Linked DNA regions of Homo sapiens: regions 1, 2, 3, 4, 6 and 7 are each linked to region 5. Evidence: promoter capture Hi-C in human tissues and cell types (Jung and others, 2019). All regions are on one chromosome and are shown on one strand. Each heading gives the region's core, a stretch centred on a gene start or on the middle of the fragment in contact. The rest is flanking DNA. Distances are from core to core; before and after follow the strand shown.

The links. Contacts are between HindIII fragments. The study calls those that stand out against the background at their distance.
Region 1: a fragment that was not itself captured here is called in contact with the fragment with the promoter of TLE1 in region 5 in 1 of the 25 tissues and cell types used here (mesenchymal stem cells).
Region 2: a contact is called between a fragment that was not itself captured here and the fragment with the promoter of TLE1 in region 5, in 1 of the 25 tissues and cell types used here (mesenchymal stem cells).
Region 3: a fragment that was not itself captured here is called in contact with the fragment with the promoter of TLE1 in region 5 in 1 of the 25 tissues and cell types used here (mesenchymal stem cells).
Region 4: a contact is called between a fragment that was not itself captured here and the fragment with the promoter of TLE1 in region 5, in 1 of the 25 tissues and cell types used here (H1 embryonic stem cells).
Region 6: a fragment that was not itself captured here is called in contact with the fragment with the promoter of TLE1 in region 5 in 1 of the 25 tissues and cell types used here (lymphoblastoid cells).
Region 7: a contact is called between a fragment that was not itself captured here and the fragment with the promoter of TLE1 in region 5, in 1 of the 25 tissues and cell types used here (mesenchymal stem cells).

What each region holds. Positions count from the first base shown.
Region 1 is chr9:82,439,910-82,442,690 of GRCh38, forward strand. No RefSeq gene overlaps it. Among named protein-coding and RNA genes, the nearest start is that of SPATA31D1, 450 kb to the left of the region's middle. The HindIII fragment of the contact is 4,143 bases long and covers 1-2,781 here.
Region 2 is chr9:81,034,797-81,037,986 of GRCh38, forward strand. No RefSeq gene overlaps it. Among named protein-coding and RNA genes, the nearest start is that of TLE1, 650 kb to the right of the region's middle. The HindIII fragment of the contact is 5,929 bases long and covers 1-3,190 here.
Region 3 is chr9:82,469,274-82,472,338 of GRCh38, forward strand. No RefSeq gene overlaps it. Among named protein-coding and RNA genes, the nearest start is that of SPATA31D1, 480 kb to the left of the region's middle. The HindIII fragment of the contact is 4,989 bases long and covers 1-3,065 here.
Region 4 is chr9:82,380,830-82,383,792 of GRCh38, forward strand. No RefSeq gene overlaps it. Among named protein-coding and RNA genes, the nearest start is that of SPATA31D1, 390 kb to the left of the region's middle. The HindIII fragment of the contact is 6,771 bases long and covers 1-2,963 here.
Region 5 is chr9:81,688,088-81,690,826 of GRCh38, forward strand. TLE1 (TLE family member 1, transcriptional corepressor) reads right to left here and starts at 1,460. Exons shown (of 20, transcript NM_005077.5): 1 at 130-1,460. The coding sequence starts at 153. It overlaps TLE1-DT (TLE1 divergent transcript), which reads left to right and starts at 1,626. Exons shown (of 4, transcript NR_109772.1): 1 at 1,626-1,872. RefSeq lists an enhancer at 771-1,485 and silencers at 1,358-1,707, 1,858-2,007. The HindIII fragment of the contact is 9,578 bases long and covers 1-2,739 here.
Region 6 is chr9:82,341,145-82,344,084 of GRCh38, forward strand. All of the region lies in intron 4 of LOC105376107 (a long non-coding RNA gene), which reads left to right. Among named protein-coding and RNA genes, the nearest start is that of SPATA31D1, 350 kb to the left of the region's middle. The HindIII fragment of the contact is 6,616 bases long and covers 1-2,940 here.
Region 7 is chr9:82,501,027-82,503,954 of GRCh38, forward strand. All of the region lies in intron 2 of LOC107987087 (a long non-coding RNA gene), which reads left to right. Among named protein-coding and RNA genes, the nearest start is that of SPATA31D1, 510 kb to the left of the region's middle. The HindIII fragment of the contact is 3,913 bases long and covers 1-2,928 here.

The DNA.
Region 1 (2,781 bases), core at 255-2,754, 750 kb after region 5:
ATACATAAAATTGGTACTAGGCATGGAGTATTGCTTAAGATACTGGAAAATGTGGAAGCAGCTTTGGAATTGGGTAAAAGGTAGAAGTTGGAAGAGTTTGGAGGGCTCTGAAGAAGACAGAAAGATGAGATTAAGTTTGGAACTTCTTACAGACTGGTTAAATTGTTGACACCAAAATTCCGCTAGTGATATGGACAGTGAAGTCCAGGCTGATGAGAACTCAGATGGAAATGAGGAAGTTATTGGGAACTGGAGCAAAGATCAGCATGTTATGTTTTAGCAGAGAGGTTAGCTGCATTGTGTCCATACACTAGGGATCTGTGGAAGTTTGAACTTCAGAGTGATGATTTAGGCTATCTATCAGAGAAATTTCTAAACAGCAAAGCATTCAAGATGTGGCCTGGCTGCTTCTAACACCCATGCTCAGATACAGGAGCAAATAAATGACTTAAAGTTGGAATTTATATTTAAAAGGGAAGCAGAGTGTAAAAGTTTGCAGCCTGGCCATGTGGCAGAGAAAGAGAAAACCTTTCTGGGAGAGTAATTTAAGCAGTCCATGGAGCAACCACCGGCTAGAGATATTTGCATAACTAAAAGGGAGCCAAGTGCTAATAACCAAGACAATGGGAAAAAGCCTGGAAGGCATTTCAGAGACCTTCCTGGCAGACCCTCCCATTGCAGGCACAGAGGTCTAGGAGGGAAAAATGATTTCATGGGCTAGGCCCAGAGCCCAGCTTCCCTGCACAGCCTCAGGACACTGCTCCCCATATCCCTGCTGCTCCAGCTCCAGCTGTGGCTCAAAGGGCCCCAGGTATAACACGAATGACTGCTTCAGCAACAAAGGGTAAAAGCTGTAAGCATTGGCATCTTTAATGTGATGTTAAGCCTGTAGGTGCACAGAGTGCAAGAGTGAAAAAGGCTCAGCAACCTCTGCCTAGATTTCAGAGGGTGTATGAGAAGGCTGGAGTGCCCAGGCAGAAGCCTGCTGCAGGGCTGGAGCCCTCACAGAGAACCTCTACTAGAGCAGTGTGGAGGGAAAATGTCGGGTTAGACCCCCACACAGTGTCCCAGCTGGTGCACTGCCTAGTGGAGCTGTGAGAAGGGGGCCACTGTCCTCCAGACCCCAGAATAGTAGATCCACTAACAACTTGCACCGTATGCCTGGAAAAGCTGTAGGAACTCAATGCCAGCCCAGGAGAACAACCATGGGGGCTGAACCCTGCAGAGCTGCAGGGGCAGAGCTGCCCAAAGCTTTGAGCACCCACACCTCATATTAGTGTGCTCTGGATGCAGGACATAGAGTCAAAGGAGACTCTTTTGGAGATTTAAGATTTAATGGCTGCCTTGCTGGGTTTTGAACTCACATGGGGCCTGTAGCCCCTTTGTTTCAGCTGATTTAACTCTTTTGGAATGGGAATTACCCAATGCCTACACCCCCATTGTATCTTAGAAGTAAATAACTTGTTTTTTATTTTATAGGTTCATAGATGGAAGGGACTTGCCTTGTCTCAGATAAGACTTTAGACTTTGGGCTTCTGAGTTAATGCTGAAATGAGTTAAAACTTTGGGGACTACTGGGAAGGCATGATAGTATTTTGCAATGTGAGAAGTCCATGAGATTTGTGGGAGGAAGGTGGGAATGATATAGTTTAGAGATTTGCCCCCACCCAAAACTCATATTGAAATGTAATCCCCAATGTTGGAGCTGGGGCCTGGTGGGAGGTGTTTGAATCATGGGGCAGGTTCCTCATGAATGGCCTGGGCCATCTCCTTGGTAATAAGTGAGCTTTCACTCTGAATTCACAGGAGATGTTGTTTAAAAGTGTGTGGCAACAACCCCCCAACTCTTTCTCTCTGTTGTTCCTGTTTTTTCCATTTGACATGCCAGTTCCTGCTTCACCATCTGCCGTGAGTAAAAGCTCCCTGAGGTCTTTCCAGAAGCCAAGCGATGTTGTTGCCATGCTTGTATAGTGCACAGAACCAAAAGCCAATTAAACCTATTTATTTACAACTTATCCAGTCTGAGGCATTTCTTTATAGCAATGCAAGAACACCCTAATATAGCTTCCGTTAAATTTAGCCAATGGGAGATGCTGGCATGAGATCTAGGGTGGGAAGAGAATGAAGTTGCAGTAGTTATCCTCCTTGCCACCTTCTTGCTAAATCATCTTAGATGGGTTGCTTTACTCACAGAGCCACCGTCCTTAGGTTCTTGTAAATGTTCACTGCTTTGCCCCTTAGGACTCAATAATGGCTCCCCATAATTTCTGCTGTTAGAGTATTGAACTGTCTTCTCTTGGCTAGGGAAAACATAAACCCTGCCCTCAGTTTTGCAAATGGTCTCTTTATTAAATTCAATACAAACTACCTAATTTTAATTTGCCATCTTTTCCTAGCTAGTCCTGAACTCATACAAAAGTAAATCAGATGGGTATCTAGTCTTCAAGGTGAAGATAAGCCATGTTTCAACATAAGTATGACAAGATAGAATTTAAGTAAGAGGCAGTGTAATACACCAGTGAGAACAGTCAACTTGAAATTAGGTTGTATAGATTATAATCACTGCTCTGCTTCTAGTTGTGATTACCTGGGTATATAAAGAAACTAGATGTGCTCAAAATTCTCTCCAATGTTGAGATTTTATACTGACTGCTCTCTTTGAGTTCTTTAAGAAAGTAGCAATTAAATGCTAGAAGGGAGTGGCAGCTAAAGTACCATGGAAACCTGGGGAAAACATAGATTAACTCGTGACAAAATTACTAAGAGCAATGACATTTCTGA
Region 2 (3,190 bases), core at 240-2,739, 650 kb before region 5:
CTAGGGCAGAAGCAACTTCTAGGTCTTTTTTAAATAAAATACTCCTGGAAGCTTCCTCCAATCATTCTGAGTTGATCCACAAGTGAAAAATCTATTTGCCATCATTTGACTAAACCATAATTTCAGAATTCTTCATGGATCTCCCCTGAGCTGCACACAAACCCCATGTTAAACACAATCATCTTTGACAGCTGATAATAGTTTGTAAATTGTATCTTTCAAGCAATGAAGAACTTTTTCTATAATTCAGGTTTCACCCTATTTTATGCCTCAATTTTTCTCATCTTGATCGTTTACTCTCTAGATTTTAATGTCTTTATGTTAATTCTGCAGTTCAAGAAATAGGCTCAATCAAGTCATGTGGTGGTTTTCAAGAATGTCAAGTTACTAAGAGTCTGGCTTTAATTGTCCGTTAGGAACAAAATAAAAAGGTTGTTGATTCTCAATTATGACGTTTCATTCTAAAATGTGGGAGATGTTCTCTGGGATGAAAGTGAGTCATTTAACATTTATGTTTCTCAACTGATATCCACTGAGGGAAAGCATAAACCAATTAATGAAAAGGATCTGTCTAGAGATAAGAAGCATCAAAAAGAAATCTGGAGAACTTCATTCTGACTCCAAACCACATAAATGAAAGACTTGCAAGCTTTTTCCCTAATGTAGCCAATGCACCGTGTCCAACTCCGTAATTATGCCTTACAGCCAAAAAAGTGAGCTGCCAGGGCTTTAAGCTAAATGCCACTCTAGCTGTATTATTCACTCTGAAGAAGGAACTACCTCTAGGAAGGTGCTTTATAGTGCCTTTAAAAAGGTAGATTCTATACCTTTAATGCTTTCTTTCTTAATTCTTATCCCCAATATTAATACTTCAAATTTAGTAAGACTTATGGAGCTAAATGGATGAAAAATTTTAATTAAAATTATGTCTACAAGCTGACCAATTTATTTATAGTTTTGAACCCCCCATGGACATAATATTGCTGCTAAACCACAAACCACTGGAAAATCAGAGTGAAACCTCATTGACTTGACGACTTACTCTCATGCCATATCAAGTTGACAACTTTCTTGCTGAGGGACCTTGAAGAAGACACTGAACCTCTAAAGCTCAATTTAAAAAAATATTAAAGAAAGTTTGTCTATGTTCCATGGACTCTACTAGACCCTTGATAAAAATATGAATTTTTATCCTCAGTCAGAGAAAAATTGGACTGTCACAGCATTAGCTTGATTTTCTATTTATGTAATATTCCATTAATGAGAGTTAAGGACATGGTTTTAGCTATCAAGAAATTAGTGTTTTAGGAAAAAAAATATATATAAATATATAGAGACCAAAATGGTCTCTATATACACACATATATGTATGTGTATATACATATATATGTGTGTATATACACACATGCATACATATACATATACATATATATGTATACACACACACATATATATGTATGTGTGTATGTGTGTGTATGTGTGTGTATATATATATATAGAGAGAGAGAGAGAGAGACATACCACCCAAAGACAAAGGCAAGCAGGAATTCAGATACAAACAAAAAGGACAAAACTAATTTTTGGAGAAAATGTCATGTGCCAAAGCCTGAATGAGCGGAGATGCTGGTAGCTTAAGAATGAAGAAATGACATGGGAAACTCAAAATGATGTGATGAAAGCTCCTTCATCAAAACAAAGTTCTTGCTCCCAACACAGATGAGATAGGGAAACCACTTGAGAGCAGGGAGCAGAGGAGAAGCACGATCCAATGGTAGAGAAAAGAAACGTTTTTGGTTGAGAATGAATCACTGACTGCAGAAAAATAGTAAGATATGTTGATAGGAAGTAATTTTTATTAATTGCTCAGTGGACAAACTTATTTAAGCACCTTCCATGTTCTAGGTTCTATGACAGTTAGAAGTTTAAAGACCTACTTTAGTGGAGGGAAAAATAGGAAAAATTTGTGGTTGATGGGTGATAGAGATTTGCCCAGGGCACACACCTGAAATCCAGCACCCATTGGGACTGGAAGTAGAAAGAAAAGCTTCTCAGAAGAGGTTCCAGCTATTCTAAGGCTTGAAGAATGCATGGGAGTTACTGAAGCAAAGAAGAGAAAGAACATGGAGTCAAAGATGCTAAAGGCATTTCAGGAGCAACTCAATTAAAAATCAAAAGGAGATCTTAGGTTAGTGGTTCCCAGCCTGTGACATCTTAGGAGCAATCTACAGTGTCACATTTAAACAAAATGTGTATGTTCCCCCATTCACATTGACTCTTATTTGGTAAGAATAAGCCCCTGAAATGATGGATGTTGTAAAGGAGTAGGACAACCACCGGCAGAAAAATTAGAACTATTTGGCCTTAAATCCTTGCTCTACAACTTCTACCTGTGCAGTCTGGGTCAATGACTTGACTTCCTTTAATCTCCATAGAGTCATTGGCAGCAACCTCATAGGTGTACTGTGGTGATAAAATGATGTGATACATGATTAAGTCAGTGTAATGCCCTATTCAAATTCAGTGCATATGAAGTATTGATATTAGAATTATTATTAATGTAAATGAAAGAACATGAAACTTGGAATCTGGAGACATCATATGTGTGACATTATGAAAGTTGCTTAGCCATTCTGAAAATCATATTGCTTAATTATTTAAAAAGAAAAACTTTTCAAACTTTGTAAGATTGTTTTAGGAATTAAATATGGCAACATTAAAAAAAACACTTAGCACAGACAAGGACCCTACTACATTTTACTTAAATCTGGGTCTGAAATACTTATATTGTAGAAACACAAAATTGTATATAAAAATGTGCTTTAATAAATAATAACAGCAAATACTTAAGTGTTTCTCTGTGTTGGGTATCTTAGGCATTTTTACATCTACTTTCTCATTCAGTCCTAAAGATCACCTTTTTATTATCCCTGTTAATCCTGAGAAGTACAGTTACTTACCTAACATCTCACAGTATTTTTTTTTAACCATAAGAACAACTTCTTTAAAAGACTTCTAAATTTCCAAAGGTTTTTTGAGTAATAATAGAAAAGGATCTAAACTCTGGCTCTCAAAAGAACAGCGGAGTCCTCCTATGAAACCAGCCCCAGGGAAGCAGCATCATCATCTGTCAACCAACATTGAGGGTCTGTGTGAATTACCATAATGGTGCCGTTGAAAAGGCACAGAAATC
Region 3 (3,065 bases), core at 1-2,500, 780 kb after region 5:
TTCCCAATTATAATTGGTTGATATATCTCTTAAGTAGAAATTGTAGTGGTGTGAAGAAGCACTGCCCAGATTCCCATTTATTGAATGACTTGTTGTCCAGCTACTGGGAGTTCAGCAGTCAGCTTCTAGCTCTCGGCCCCTTCTGAATTGCCCCAGCTGCAGAAAGCTACATCACTCAAGGGTAAACCCTTCCTGAGACAGCCCAAATCTAATAAATAATTGCAGCAAGGATATGAAGTCCCAACCATTTAATCCACTCTGGGACACATTCATGTCATGTACACTTGAGAGCTTCCCGTGGGTTTGGCCAAGGCTTTGTGGGCCTACACCACAGTTTGACTTCTCTCTTTGACCAATCCTGCTTTATCCTCCTCATTTCCACAGATATAGATCCCTAATCAACATCTAGCATGCTATGTTCCATTTCATCATTTGCTTCCAGAGAAGCTAACTTGTGATAGATGTATTTCCAGAGATATTTTATTGTCATGTTTTATTCTAGTGAAACAAACTATAATGGATCTGCCTATTACAAACTTACAGTCAGTTTCAAATATAATTCCTTCAGACTTACAATAAAGTGCAATGTATTTGATAAATGGCAGAAACTCTCTGACTCAGATAGAGCATTTTAGGGCTACTTTCTTTGGATAATTTGAATAGGAATTAAAAAAGAAAACCTTTCCTATTTCCTGCTGCAATGCCTGAATATATCAACTTGATATCTTCAGTAACAATGCCCATGGCAAAGAGAGCATGTCATCACTCAACTCTTCGTTTCTTAAGAAGAGAGAAAAGGGTCTTTTTTGGTAGGTTTGATACTTTATTTGCACTGGATTGGATTTGACTCTAAAAACATATTATTATGACTGAGGACTGAGTAGTGGTAGGGTGATTATTTCAAAATACAGTAGAAGAAATGGAACATAAGAAAACAATAGAATTACAAACACACTAGAGCATTGCCGATGCTTCAAACTGCATCTAAAATTAGGAGGATGAGATTAAGCAGATGAGAAATAACTCATTGTTAAAAATAAGAAAAAGACATTTTGCTAAGAAAGTGTGGTTGGAAAGTGTTTATTGTTTTTCTTTAGTGCTGCAGGCTAGTTTGAATTTTCGTAACATGTATTAGTTTTTTTAAACATTAAAGTGTAAGGGAGAAATGACCTTTAATTTCACCATCCAGATAGTTCTTCTAGCAAAAAAAGAAAAAGTATGAATAAAAATCAATTATTCAAGAGATGAAGAAGGACATTATATATTAATGAAAGTTTCAATACAGTAAGAAAGTATAATAATTATAAACATTTAAACACCTAATGACAGAACATCAAACATATGAAGCAAATACTGATGACATTCAAGGGGAAAATATACAGTTCTACAATAATATTTGGAGACTTCAACACCCCACTCTCAAAAATGGATAGACCAACTATACATAAAATGATTAAGGAAACAGAAGATTTAAATAATACACATTCTTCTCAAGTGCACGTGGGACATTTTTTCAATTTAGGCCAAGTGTTAGGCTGCAAATTCGGTCTCAATAGATTTAAACAGATATCATACAAAGTATCTTCTCAGACCACAACAGATTGAAGTTAAAAATCAGTAACAGAAATAAAACTGAAAAATTCACAACTTCATAGAAATTAAATAACACACTCTGAATTAATAGATCAAAGAAGAAATAAAAAAGGAATTAGAAAATACTTAACAACAGATTAAAACAAAACCATCACATAGCCCAATTTATGGGACACAGCAAAATCAGTGCTAAGAAAGAAATGTATTGCTATAAGATCTTACATTAAAAAATAAAAACAGTTTAAAATTAACAACCTAACTTTACAACTTAAGGGACTATGAAAAGAAGAACAAAGTAACTCAAAGCAGAAAGGAGGAAATAAAGAATAGCACAGAGATCAATGAAATAGAGAATAGGAAAACAATAGAGAAAAATCAATGAAACCAAAAGTTGGTCTTAGAAAATATGAACAAAAGTGAAAACCTTTAGCTAGAACTAAGAAAAAGGAGAGAAGATTCAAATAACTAAAATCAGAAATAAAAAATGGGGACATTACTAACATTTCTACAGAAATAAAAGAATTATAAGAGAGTACAATGAACAACTGTATGCCAACATATTGGATAACCTGGATGAAATGGACAAATTTGTGGAAACACAAAACCTACCAAGGCTAAATCATTAAGAAATAGACAATCTGAATAGACCTGTTATTTGTAAAAAAGATTGAATCAGTATTCAAAAATCTACCAACAAAGAAAACCCTCAAACCTAATGGCTTCACTGGAGAATTCTACTGAACATTTAAAGAAAAACCAATGCCACACCTTCTCAAATTTGTCCAAAAAAATTGAAGAGGAGGGAGAACTTTCTGACTTATTTTATGAGGCCAGCATTATGCTGATATCAAATCCAGACAAAGACATCACAAGAAAAGAAAACTAGAAAACTATAGACCAATATCCTTTGTGAACATTGATGCCAAAATGTTTAATGAAATATTAACAAGCTGACTTCAGTAGCATATTAACAGGATTATACACCACAACTAAGTGGAATTTATTCCTGGAATACAAGGATAGTTCAGCATACAAAAATTGACCAATATAATGCACCACATTAACAGAATGAAGGAAAAATGTCAAGTGATTATCTCAATTGATGCATTTGACAAAATTCAACATCCTTTCATGATAAAACACTCAATAGATTAAGAATAGTAGGAAACTGCCTAAACATAATAAAAATCATATAAGAAAAACCACAGCAAACATTGGTTAAATTACGTTTAGCCTAAAGCTGGCTACAGCTGCCTAAAGCTACCTCCTGACATATTTTATGTTTGGCCAGAAGGTTTCTCTGTACATGGTGAATGGAAACCTAACTGGATGCATAACACACTGTAACCTACTCTTGTAACCTCAATGTGCCAATTGCTGAGTTTTGGCCAATCCAAAGTGGCCAACTGTTCTACCATGTTCAAGTAAGGCAAATACAGGGGCGTAATCAATCTGACTGTTTCTGTATCTTA
Region 4 (2,963 bases), core at 12-2,511, 690 kb after region 5:
TTATACCTTATACAAAAATTAATTTAACATGGATTAAAGACTTAAATGTAAAACCCAAAACTATAAAAATCTTAGAAGAAAATCTAGGCAATACCATTCAGGACATAGACACAGGCAAATATTTCATGACAAAAACGTCAAAAGCAATTGCAACAAAAGCAAACATTGACAAATGGGATCTAATTAAACTAAAGAGCTTCTGCACGGCAAAAGAAACTATCATGAGAGTGTGAAGAGACAACCTACAAAATGGGAGAAAATTTTTGCAATCTATGTGATCTGAACAATGAGAACATATGGACACAGGGAGGAGAACAACACACACTGGGGTCTTTCAGCAAGGTATGTGAGGGAGAAAATCAGGAAAAATAGCTAATTCATGCTGGGCTTAATACCTAGGTGATGGGTTGATAGGTGTAGCAAACCACCATGGCACACATGTACCTGTGTAACAAACCTGCACATTCTGTACATGTATCTTGGAACTAAAAATAAAATTCTGCTAAGGATTCTGGATTTTTTGCTAGTGCAGTAGAGACAACCAAAGGGTTTAAACCTAGTAAGTAGGGTGATCTTATTTGAATTTTTGAAAGACTACTCCCAGCAGCACTGCAAACGATGAAATAGAAAAAGCAAGACTTGAGGCAACGACACCAAATCATGGAATCTCTGTATATAGTGGTCCAAATCCTAATAATGAGGGTTTGAACCAAGGTGAGAACACCATGTGCATAGCATCATATTTAGTCTTTCCCTGCCAAGCCGTATCTGCTAGGGAAGGAAGTGTTAATACATAAAGCGATTAAAATCTTTCAGCAACACTTTAAAGGAAATACCTTATTATTAGATATTAAAAAATATTAATGAAAATGTGTCCAGGAAGGGAAACGTAGTTTGTGTATTATCATATTTCTAGTACTTGATTGGAAACCGTAAAATGTGATTTCTAATCTTAGCTTTGCCACATAAAGTCATGAGTTTAAGCACATTCTTTAATCTTTCTGAGCCTCACTTTCCATTTTGGTGAAAATTGGGCATTCTGACTTCTTTCCAAGTTTGTTGGAAAGAATACTTTTCCTTTCAGAACTGTAGGGGAAATTAATTGTTGTGAGAACATTTTCAAACTATATGATTCAAAGGTAAGTTATTACTTAATATATGGAGAAAGCATTGGAGACCATCAGTTATTCTTGGTTTTCTCCAATTGATAGTGGAGAGATCAGAGGCTGTTAATATGTTGGCAGAAATTCATATATCTTGAATTTTTAGCCAGCTCACAAAACAAGACCCATGGAAAACGAAGCACAGAGAAACCCATGGGATTAATTATCCTTGTAAATTGGATAATCAAACTGCAGTCAGTTTGATTCTGCTCCTCTGGTAGCATCACAGACATATACACACAACTACAACATACACAAACAGCTGTAGGGGCAGAGGGAAAGCTCTCTCTTAACTTACTGAAGGTTCACTGAAATGACTGACAATAGACAGATTTATAGGAGAAAAGGGCATACAAATATATTAACGTGCTCGTGGACACAGGAGTCCTGCAAATATGAGACTCAAAGTGGAGATTGTTGAAGCTTAAATACTCTCTTTACGGGGAAGAGGAAACTGGGGGCATGTAGGCAATTTATAGGGGAGTACTTAATGATTTTCACGGGAAATAAGGCCAAAGAATGGCCTGAAACAAAGTTCCTTGAGTTCTGGAGGAGGTAGTATGAAGGTGAGGGGCAGAACTTTATTGTAAATGAAAGTTGTTTTATTATGCATATAAAGTCTCTAAGGTAATCTTTCAAAGTTGCTCTCAGAAGAATAGGTGAAAAGGCTATCTCTGTGGCCGGGCGTGGTGTCTCACGCCTGTAATCCCAGCACTTTAGGAGGCCAAGGCGGGCGAATCACGAGGTCATGAGATCAAGACCATCCTGGCTAACACGGTGAAACTCCGTCTCTGCTAAAAATACAAAATATTAGCCAGGCGTGGTGGTCAGTGCCTGTAGTCCCAGCTACTCGGGAGGCTGAGGCAGGAGAATGGCTTGAACCCGGGAGGCGGAGCTTGCAGTGAGCAGAGCTTGCGCCACTGCACTCCAGTCTGGGCGACAGTGTGAGACTCCATCTCAAAAAAAAAAAAAAAAAGTCTATCTGTGCATGATCATGGACTTTTAGTCTCCTGTCTTTTTCAGTGGTTAGTCTTTTCTAGTTCTTTTATGAGATTCCTAAGGAGGGGGTCTTAGGACAATTGCATTTCTTTTGAAAAGAAGTTTCCTTCGTCAGATAAGGACATTCCAGAGGCAGTCCCATGCTGTGTTTGGAGACAGGGGAAGAAACAAGATTAGAAAGTCTTTGGTTCTGAGGCGTCTTCTAAGGCCTTCCTATTTTAGTTCAAAATGCTCAGCATGTCAAAGTGCCATACTTTGGGGGTATTGTCTTTTGAGCCCCAACTAGCACAAAATACAAGCAACACTCATACAGAACACACAAAATACACACAACAAACATATGTGACACACAAATATACCCAATATATATACTGTGTGATCATACCACACATGCAAAATGTGTGGTTACTACATAGATGACGCACAACACACACAAATAATACTTTATACACCACACATAAAATACATGTAATGCACACAAAAACCACAGACACAATGATGAGTTTTCCAAATATTAGTCATCCATCTACCACTTTCACATTATTTGCTTTATTTGCATATCATGTAAACATTCATTTACCAAATTTATCTTGCTTGTACAGGTTGTACTTCGAAATATTTTTATGAATCTTTTCTTTTGCTTTCTTTTTACGTCATCATGGTTGACAAACTTTTGATTACCTTATTTTTACATACTTAGCTCATCAAAAGTATCTGACGGAAGTGTTGGTATAGATCTGGTAAATATTATCTATTGGGTATGAAAATGTCAATTGTTCTAACCCGTGTGCTGATCTACTC
Region 5 (2,739 bases), core at 210-2,709:
CTCCCCAGCCTTACACCGCTGAGGGCGAGAAGGTCCGCCGGGCCTCAGAAGCCACCAGTCTCCCTACCGCCCGGGAGAAGCGCCTCCCCAACGATCCTGGCCCCCCACCACCACCCAGCCGCGCCTCACCGGGTGCCGGCTCTGCGGGAACATCGCTCTGGCGGCGGCCGGGGCTCTGTTCCCCGGCAACTCAATTCTCCGGTCAATTTCCAACTTTAATCCCGCCGAGGAAAATTAAGCCGGAAAGCCAAGCAGAAGCGGGGAGCGCGCTGGCCACGCACGCGCGCTCCGCCGGGCGCACCGGCCACTCGGCGCCCGCAGCTGCTCCGGCTCCCGCTCCCGTCGGTGCGGGCTCCGGCCCTCAGGGCCACATTAGTGGGCGCCCCAGGCCCAGCTGCTTCAAGAACCTGCGCGGAGACGTCGGGCGCTCGGGGACTGTGCGCGGGGGCAGCGCTCCAACCCCCGGCCTCAGCTGCCCGGGCGGGGAGGCGGGGGCGCGGTGACTCCGACCGCACTCCCCTCGGCGATCCGCGTGCGCGGCGCCAGTCCTGGGCAAACAAATCCAGACGGACTGCTTTTCTTTGCTCTTCTCCTGGTCCGCCTCCTCTTCGGGCTTTCCCCGAGGCGGCGGCGGGCGAGGTGCAGGTGGCGCGGCGGCCCCCGCTAACCCCACACAAACCCGACGCTTTCGGGGCGACTCCCGCAAGATTCGGCTGCGCCTTCGGCCGGGTGCTCGCAGGCTCCCGGGACGCAAAGGGGAGCGAGGTTGAAGACGCAGCGGAGGCTCCTGGCCGGGGAGCGACGGATGACGAGGCGGGGAAAGTGCGGAGGGCGCGCCGGGAGGCGGCTCGGCACGCCCCGTGCGACCAGCACTCGGTGTTCTCCGCGGTTGCACAAACCCTCCGGGCCCGACGGGGCTACTCCACCGAGAGCAGTCCCGCAAGTGCCCAATGCTCCTCGAGCCCGGGGAGCATCAGGGCGCCGCGCCTCGGGCGCACTCGCCCTGCACGGCCGGACCGGCCGCTCCGGACCCTTCTTCCGAGCTCCTTCTTCCTCGGTCTTCTTTCTTTCCTTCCTTCACCTTCGTGTGCTTCTCCGCAAAGGGCGCTCCAGCCCACTGCAAAGTTCTCTCACCACCCGAGGGACGACATCCACGAGATGGTGGGGAAAACAGCAGGAGTGCGCTCCGCCAATCGGCCACCCTCCCCGGCGGGCAAACTCTGCGGGCGAGTCCAGAGTAGTCACAGCGGTGGGGCCAGCGGGGGTTTTGGTCGCCGCGGGACGACGGAGGTCCGGGCTGGTGGCGCGGGTCCCGCCCGGCCGTGCGAGGGTGGGGTGGCGCAGTCGGCTGCCTCCGGGACGCGGGGCACAGAGTACCCGCCGCTGTTTCTGCTGCTGCTGCTTCTGCAGCCGCCGCTCCCACCGCCGCCGCCGCCCGCGCCTCTCGCGCCGCTTACATTAACACGCGGTTTCACACTCCGGAGCTAACCAGCGCCGGCCCCGCCCAGCCCCGTTCGGGCGGGGGGCGCGAGCGCGGAGCCGGCGGGGGACGTGAGCCCGGGAGGTTGGGGGGTGGGGGGGGGGCAGAAGGCCCGCATCAGCCAATCGCGTGCGCTGCAACCAACGTGGGGCGCTGACGCGCTCCTCCCCGGAGCGTATGGCAGCGCAGCGCCGGACGGGGCGTTCTCCCTCCCCCCCTCCTCTCGCTTCCATCTCCGCCGTCTCCTCGGTCTCCCTTCCCATCCCGGCCCCTCCTCCGCCAGCCGCGTCCTCCCGGGCTTGGTGAGGAACTGTTCCTGGAGGAGCCGCGGGACGCCAAAACCAGCCAATGGGAAGCGGCGATTCGCGGAGATTGGCACTGATGATGGGAAGGTCGGTGGGAAGGAGAGCGGCGGGGCTGGGCTGTCAATCAAAGTAACGTGGGGCTGGCTAGAGAGCGCGCGGGCGCGCGCTAGCGGGAGGGACTGGCGAGCGTGCAGCCGGGGAAGCTGAGGGCTCGAGTTAGCAAAAATCCTGCCACTTGCTCACTTTTCCCTTTAATGAAAATCCTCAGATCTAAGTGAAAGTAACTCAAAGACTAGCTGCGGAGTTTCTTATTGGAGGCGGAGGGGGGCTTTTGGTAATTCGAGCAAATGTGTTTTTCAGTGCTGGACCCCTTGTTTGATGCTACTCTAAAAGTGAGGCCACATTCAAAAATTTATCTGAGGTTTGTTTTTCCTTGAGCTGCCTTTTTACGGATGTACGAGAGGGAGTGGACTGTGCACTTAGTTGGAAATGCGTAAATGAGCAACGCCACGGTTGGCGTAGGTACACCAGCAAAGACGACTGTGATGTCCTCCCACCCCACCCACCCCCTTTGCACCCAAAGTGGTAGGATTTGATTTTTATTGCAGGATTTCAAGCCACTTTTCAAAAAGATCGTCCTGTCCCGTTTGGCGGGAAGGATTCCCAGGGTGCTGCCAGAACAAGGCACGCGTGTCCGCAGATGAGACGTTTTGCCCGGGGCGCGAAATCCCAGGTCTTCGTCTTAAAAGTCCTGACTTCGCTGTGTTGGGAGAGGTGGGGAGCGGCTGAGGTTTTTAGGAACTTCTCAGCTACAAGACTACGAGTCTGTTTCCAATTCCTGGGAACAAAGAGAGACAATGTAATAAACCAGCACTGAGACCTGAAAAACCTGTCCCGCACACCCCACCCCCACAGTCTGGGTGGTACTCCTGAGCTGAGCTGTGTGAAGAGCTA
Region 6 (2,940 bases), core at 23-2,522, 650 kb after region 5:
TCCCCCCTCTAACTAGAAATAAGCAATATGGTAGTAAAAAGGAATCCATAGAGCAAACTTTGTTATTTGTCCAGGCATCAAACGGTTATAATTGGCAAAAACAGTTGACATTTCACCACAACATGGGTTGAATTTTGTTTAAAAACAAGTAATAATTAAAATGTAATTAAGAATAAAAAATTAGATTTATGGTTTTAAAAAAGAATATGTAATAGTAATGTGTATTGCCCCTGCCTTTGAAGTCATGCCTGATTTTAAGAGATATCACGAGTGAAAACATTGAAGTGTGCTGAAGAAAGCAGTAACTTATTCTGAAGGGTCTCAGTAAATGCAGGAAATCTTGGGAAATTGCAGGAAAAAAATGATTCTATCACAAATTTTAACATCAGTTCACTGGATGCTTTCTTCCACATGCAGCTGAATCTTGATTTATTTTGTTAATGAGCACTGTGCTTTACTATAAATTTTCTTCTTACTGTGTGCATTACTAATACTTGCAGATTATTTTTCTGGTAAGGTATGATTTATTTTGAAGATTTTAATTTTTGGCGAAGGGAGTCAGATTAACATTAGGAAGTAGATTGAAATTTTGTTTTGTTTTATTGTTTAGAGTTTTTGAACTTTTTTGTTTTTGAACCAGAAAGAATATTGAACACAGAAAGTCATGGATTCTGTGTCAGTTTAATAAAATAGTAAAACTTTTTAAGATTGGCTCAGTGTGAAACAGCCTTGTTGCTTGGGGTAGCACCTGAAATTCTTGGTCTCATGGCCGAAGAAATCAAGAACGCAGACACACCAAATGTCAGGTTAGAGCAGAAGCAGAAGTTTAATAGGCAAAAAAAAAAAAAAAAAAAAAAAAAAAAAAAGAGAACAGCTATCTGCAGCAGAGAAGGGTCCCAAAAAGGGTTGCCATTCAGCAGTGAAATGCAAGTGTTTATAAGCTAGTGGGGAAGCAGCATCTTATCTACATAGGGTGTGAAAAACTGGTTAGGACCAGGTGTGCCATCTGAATAGAGGGTGAATCTCTGGCAGCCCCCACATCAATCTTTTATTACATAGGCAGGTCCTTTGCCTGAGCTACTCCATGTTGCTTTCCTACTGTGTATGTGTTAAAAAGCAGGAGGTGGAGCCCCCATGGTGACATGCCTGGCCCCCAGCTACCCCTTTCTATCGGTGCAGCTGCAGGCATTCCCCGCTTGCAAACTTCCAGCTTCCTTATCTATGTTTGCAGCCTGATCTTCCAGGCTGCTCTTTATTAGAAAAGAAGTGATTTCTTGGGCTGCTTTTTGCCAGAAGGGAAGTTCTGCCGAGGACTTTTTTCCCGAACTATTTGCCTAGCTAGTTTTTTTCTACCTCCTCTCTCAAATGCATATTCGTACCTCCAAAAGCATATTTTATTTTCTGAAGAGATAGCCTATTTCTTCACTTAGGATAAGAAATTAAAGTTTTAATCTCACAATTATCTAATATTCTTTACCACTAACCTCAAACAAAGGTAATGAATTACTTCTAGCAGTTTCCTCACCGAGCACCAAAGTTATTCTTAAAAACTAGATATGGTTTGGTTCTGTGTCCCCACCCAAATCTCACCTATAATTGTAATTCCCATAATCCCCATGCGTCAAGGGCGGGACCAAGTGGAGGTAATCAGATCATGTGGGCAGTTTCCCCCACGCTGTTCTTGTGATAATGAGTCTCATGAGATCTGATGGTTTTATAAGCGCCTGAGATTTCCCCTGCTTGTACCCACTCTGTGCTGCCACCCTGTGAAGAAGGTGCCTGCTTCTCCTTTGCCTTCTGCCATGATTGTAAGTTTCCTGAGGCCTTCCCAGCAATTCGGAACTGTGAGTCATTATATCTCTTCCCTTTATAAATTACCCAGTCTCAGGTAATTCTTCATAGCAGTGTGAGAATAGACTAATACACCACACTTCTGTTATCATGGCTTCAGGCTTGACCTGAACCCCTTCTTTTATCCTGCCAATCCACAGTGGCATGCATGCTTTCTTTACCTTTGGTATGTCTTCAGTTTCTATTCTCTTGTCTTCTTTTAAGACCCTATGGGCTACCCCTTTCTTCCCTATCTACCTTTGCCAGGCATGTAAAACTTCCTTTTTCCCTTTTTCATGCCCTGTGCCCATGGTCAGCAAAACTACCCCCATACTTAGCCTTGACTGCTGACTCCATTTTGGGCAGAATCTTCTCACTTAGGCCCTCCTCCATCCCAGGAGAAGAACTAGGTCACAAATACGGTTGTTTCCCAGCTGGTATTTCTGAAAATGTAAATGAAAGACAGTTTAAGGGGAAGAGCCTGGAGGAAAATGAGGCTAATTTGCTTTACCATTTTTTTTAACTGTCCAAATGTAACCACTACCGGAGGCCTTTAATTTAAATTCTGGAGCTCTAGGATCTGTGAGACTCCCCATCACATTCTCTCAGCTTCTGCTTGGGATTCTTGTCCTTAGCATTAGAGACTTTTTTTCTGCCTAGGTAATTTCAAAATGCAAATTACAATAGAAACAACAACAGTAAAATCATATAACATCTATTGAAAACTATGGTCTAATCACTTTTATATACATTTTCTCATTTAACACAACAACTTAATGACCGGGGCCTTATCAAAGTCCTCATTTGAAAGAAGAGGAAACTGAGGCTTAGATGTGTAAATAAATCAGCAAGCATGTGTTTAACCTTGGAATTGCATCTAATTCTACTTGATTCCAAAGCCCAGCTCTTAATTACTAGGAATATTGACTCCTTCTTTGCTCCATGATTTAACATTTCAAAGTGATTTCTGAGATGTACTGTTTGACTTCCTATTAATGTCAAATTAGAGGTTTTACATTAAAAAACTTTTATTTTTGGTAGAGTGTGACCAAGAATGAATGGCTCAATATATGCAATAATAATATTTTATATTTTGTGCAGTGTTTTACT
Region 7 (2,928 bases), core at 126-2,625, 810 kb after region 5:
AAAAAGATGCAAAATTTTAAAATAAAAAATTAGTAAATTCTACCCAGGATTACAAAAAAAGAGCAATATATTGTGTCTAGGTAGGCTTTATTCCAGTTATACAAAATTGGCGTAATAATAGAAGAAGAAATAAATGTTATTTGTTATACTAAAAAAGGGTGGAAAAGTCTAATGTGACCATCACAACAGATTTTTAAAAAGCAGTTACTTAGGATAACAATCCTTCAGAATAAAATACCTGGTATTCTTAATGTGCCAGAGTACCTACCAGAAATTGATACCAAAATAATATTTAATGGCAATAATATTAAAATAAATAACTAAAAGCTTTCTTTCTGTAACTGAGAATGACATAAGAATGTCTTGCTTTTAACTCTTCTATTTAATATTATACTGAATGTTCTATCCACTGCAATAAGATAAGAAAAATGAACAAAAAGAAACAAGCATCAGTAATGTAGAAGAAAACTACAGTTGCCATTATTTGTAGATAAAATTAATGTGCCCATAGAAAATTACCAAAAGAATCAAACCTAATGAAAAAAACAAGAGTACTCCAACATGCAACCTGAATGAATATCACATAATGTTGAATGATAGAGCAGAGATAAATGTGTACATAATATTTGATTCTACTTATGTGAAGTTCTGAAACAGGCAAAACATATATATATATATATACACACACACATATATAGAAATCAAAAGAGTGGTTACATTTGGTGAGGAAGTAATTATTGGAAGGGTACGTGAGAAAGGGTGTGGTGAGGAAGTAATTATTGGAAGGGTACGTGAGAAAGGGTGTTTGATCTGGAAAGTGGTCAATAGGTATGCACATAAGTAAAACTTATTGAACTGTACATAAAAGACTTGCATACTTTATAGTATGTATGCTACACCTCACTACTAAAGTAAACAAAGAAAGAAACCTTATAACCAAAGAGAAAATTTATGAATTCCTATTATGCCTCCTCTGTCTTATCTCAGCTAATTATAGGGCCATTTTATATAAGGCTCTATATATGTTTTATCTTTTATTTATAATCTTATTAATATAAGACATAATTTATTAGTTATATGACTTATATTTTTTGTAAGGGTCCTATAAAATGAAAATGAGTATTTCCAATCCAGATCAAAGATCATGGTGTGGCAAAGGGGAAATACTCAATGTTTTCTTAAGGGAGAGAACAGTGACATCTCTGTGAATGGAGCTATTTACAGAGGAGGATGTCTCTTACACTCTCTTGCAAGATCCTTAATGGTGCACACCCAAGTGTTAGCCTGGAATGTAGTAATAATCTGAGCTAATTTTTATTGGAGATTTACTCTGTGCAAGGTTTTTTTACGTGAATGATCTCAATTACTTGTCATAACAACCTGTGAAGTAGCTAACATTTTGTCCTCATTTTAAAGTCAATAAAACAGAAGCTCATAACATGCCAAGTCACTCAGTTTGTAAGAGGTGGAGTTTAGATGCAAGTCCAAGTCAGTGCAAATCTCAAGACTATGCTCATAACCATTGTATTATACTTCCAAGAAAACAGTTGGGTATATGAGTCAGAAACCTCTATATCTCCATTATAGAATTGAAAACAATCCGTTTATTAAGTTTAAACTCTGGAATTCCTCCTCATTAGGGAATAAGACCCAAAAGGAAGGGATAATATTTTATTCATCTATGGGCACCCATTGTTTAGCACAGGACATGTCACATAACAGATATTAGGCTTAATAAACATTTGTTCAGTGAGGTAGCTCGAATATCCATGGTTGTGGTGTTACTGTAGAATCCATCCATTCCTGCACACTTGTTTGTAACTGAAATATAAATTATCTCCCTTAGCAAGCTTCACAAGGTAATAAGCATATTCATCAAATAATTCCAATCCAAACTGTGGGACTCACTGGTATTTACTGCATCTGAAATTCACAATTGGTGCACAGAAAGCAAAAAGAAGCATCCTAGTGATTGCTTGAGAATTCAATTTACATATTTTTATACACTCAATGGAGTAAAAGCAAACTTTAGGGCTTCTGAACAAAATTATTCCATTTTGTTACCACATTTTCCATTTTCTCAATAAAGTGATAGCTACTTATTGATAGTTTTTGTGTTTTCCAGACACTCTCTTTGTGTTCTGGAGATAAGCTGTCAATATAACCCCAAAGAATCTTTTGGAAGGGCAAGAATTCCCAAGGATACTACCTAGAGCTCCGCCAGCAGACACATGCCTTAAAAATTTTTCTTTTCTACCAACTCTTTGTCCATGGAGATAAACCAATTTTCCTCTTTTTTTGTAATGCACAGGATCTACAGGGATGCCTGGGTAAGGAATTTAGCATATCATCCTAGGAATACCTTGGTCTTTGGTTTGGCAGTACATCATCACTGGAGGTGGTAACAGTTGTGCAACAGTTTATGGGTGTGGTGTGGGGTCTAGCGGCTGCTTTTATTTTTTCCCTTCTAGAAGTTTATTTCCTTTGAGTCGCTTTTTAATTATGATGGATTTGTTTTATGTTGTATATATTCATTTCAAAGATCTTAGGCAGTCTTTTTTTCAAGATTCATGGAAACAAAGATTCATGATTCTGATGAAAAAGAGTGTTCAACATCTGTCAGGGCCTATGTTCCTACACATTTTTGATGGTACATATTTGGCATTATAAAAAGTTATGTAATATCCATGAGGACATGAATAAATCTCTGAATTATCAATGCTCAATCTCAGTGTCTGCCCCATTCATAAGTAAAGTTAAAATGTTCAGGAAGATCCAGATCACCTTCTGCCCCAATCTGTGATTGATTGATTTATGGTAAGAACACATAACATGAGATCTAACCTCAGCAAATTTTTTAGGGCACAATACGGTATGGTTTACTAAGGCCACAATATACAGCAGATCTCTAGAACTTACTCATCTTGC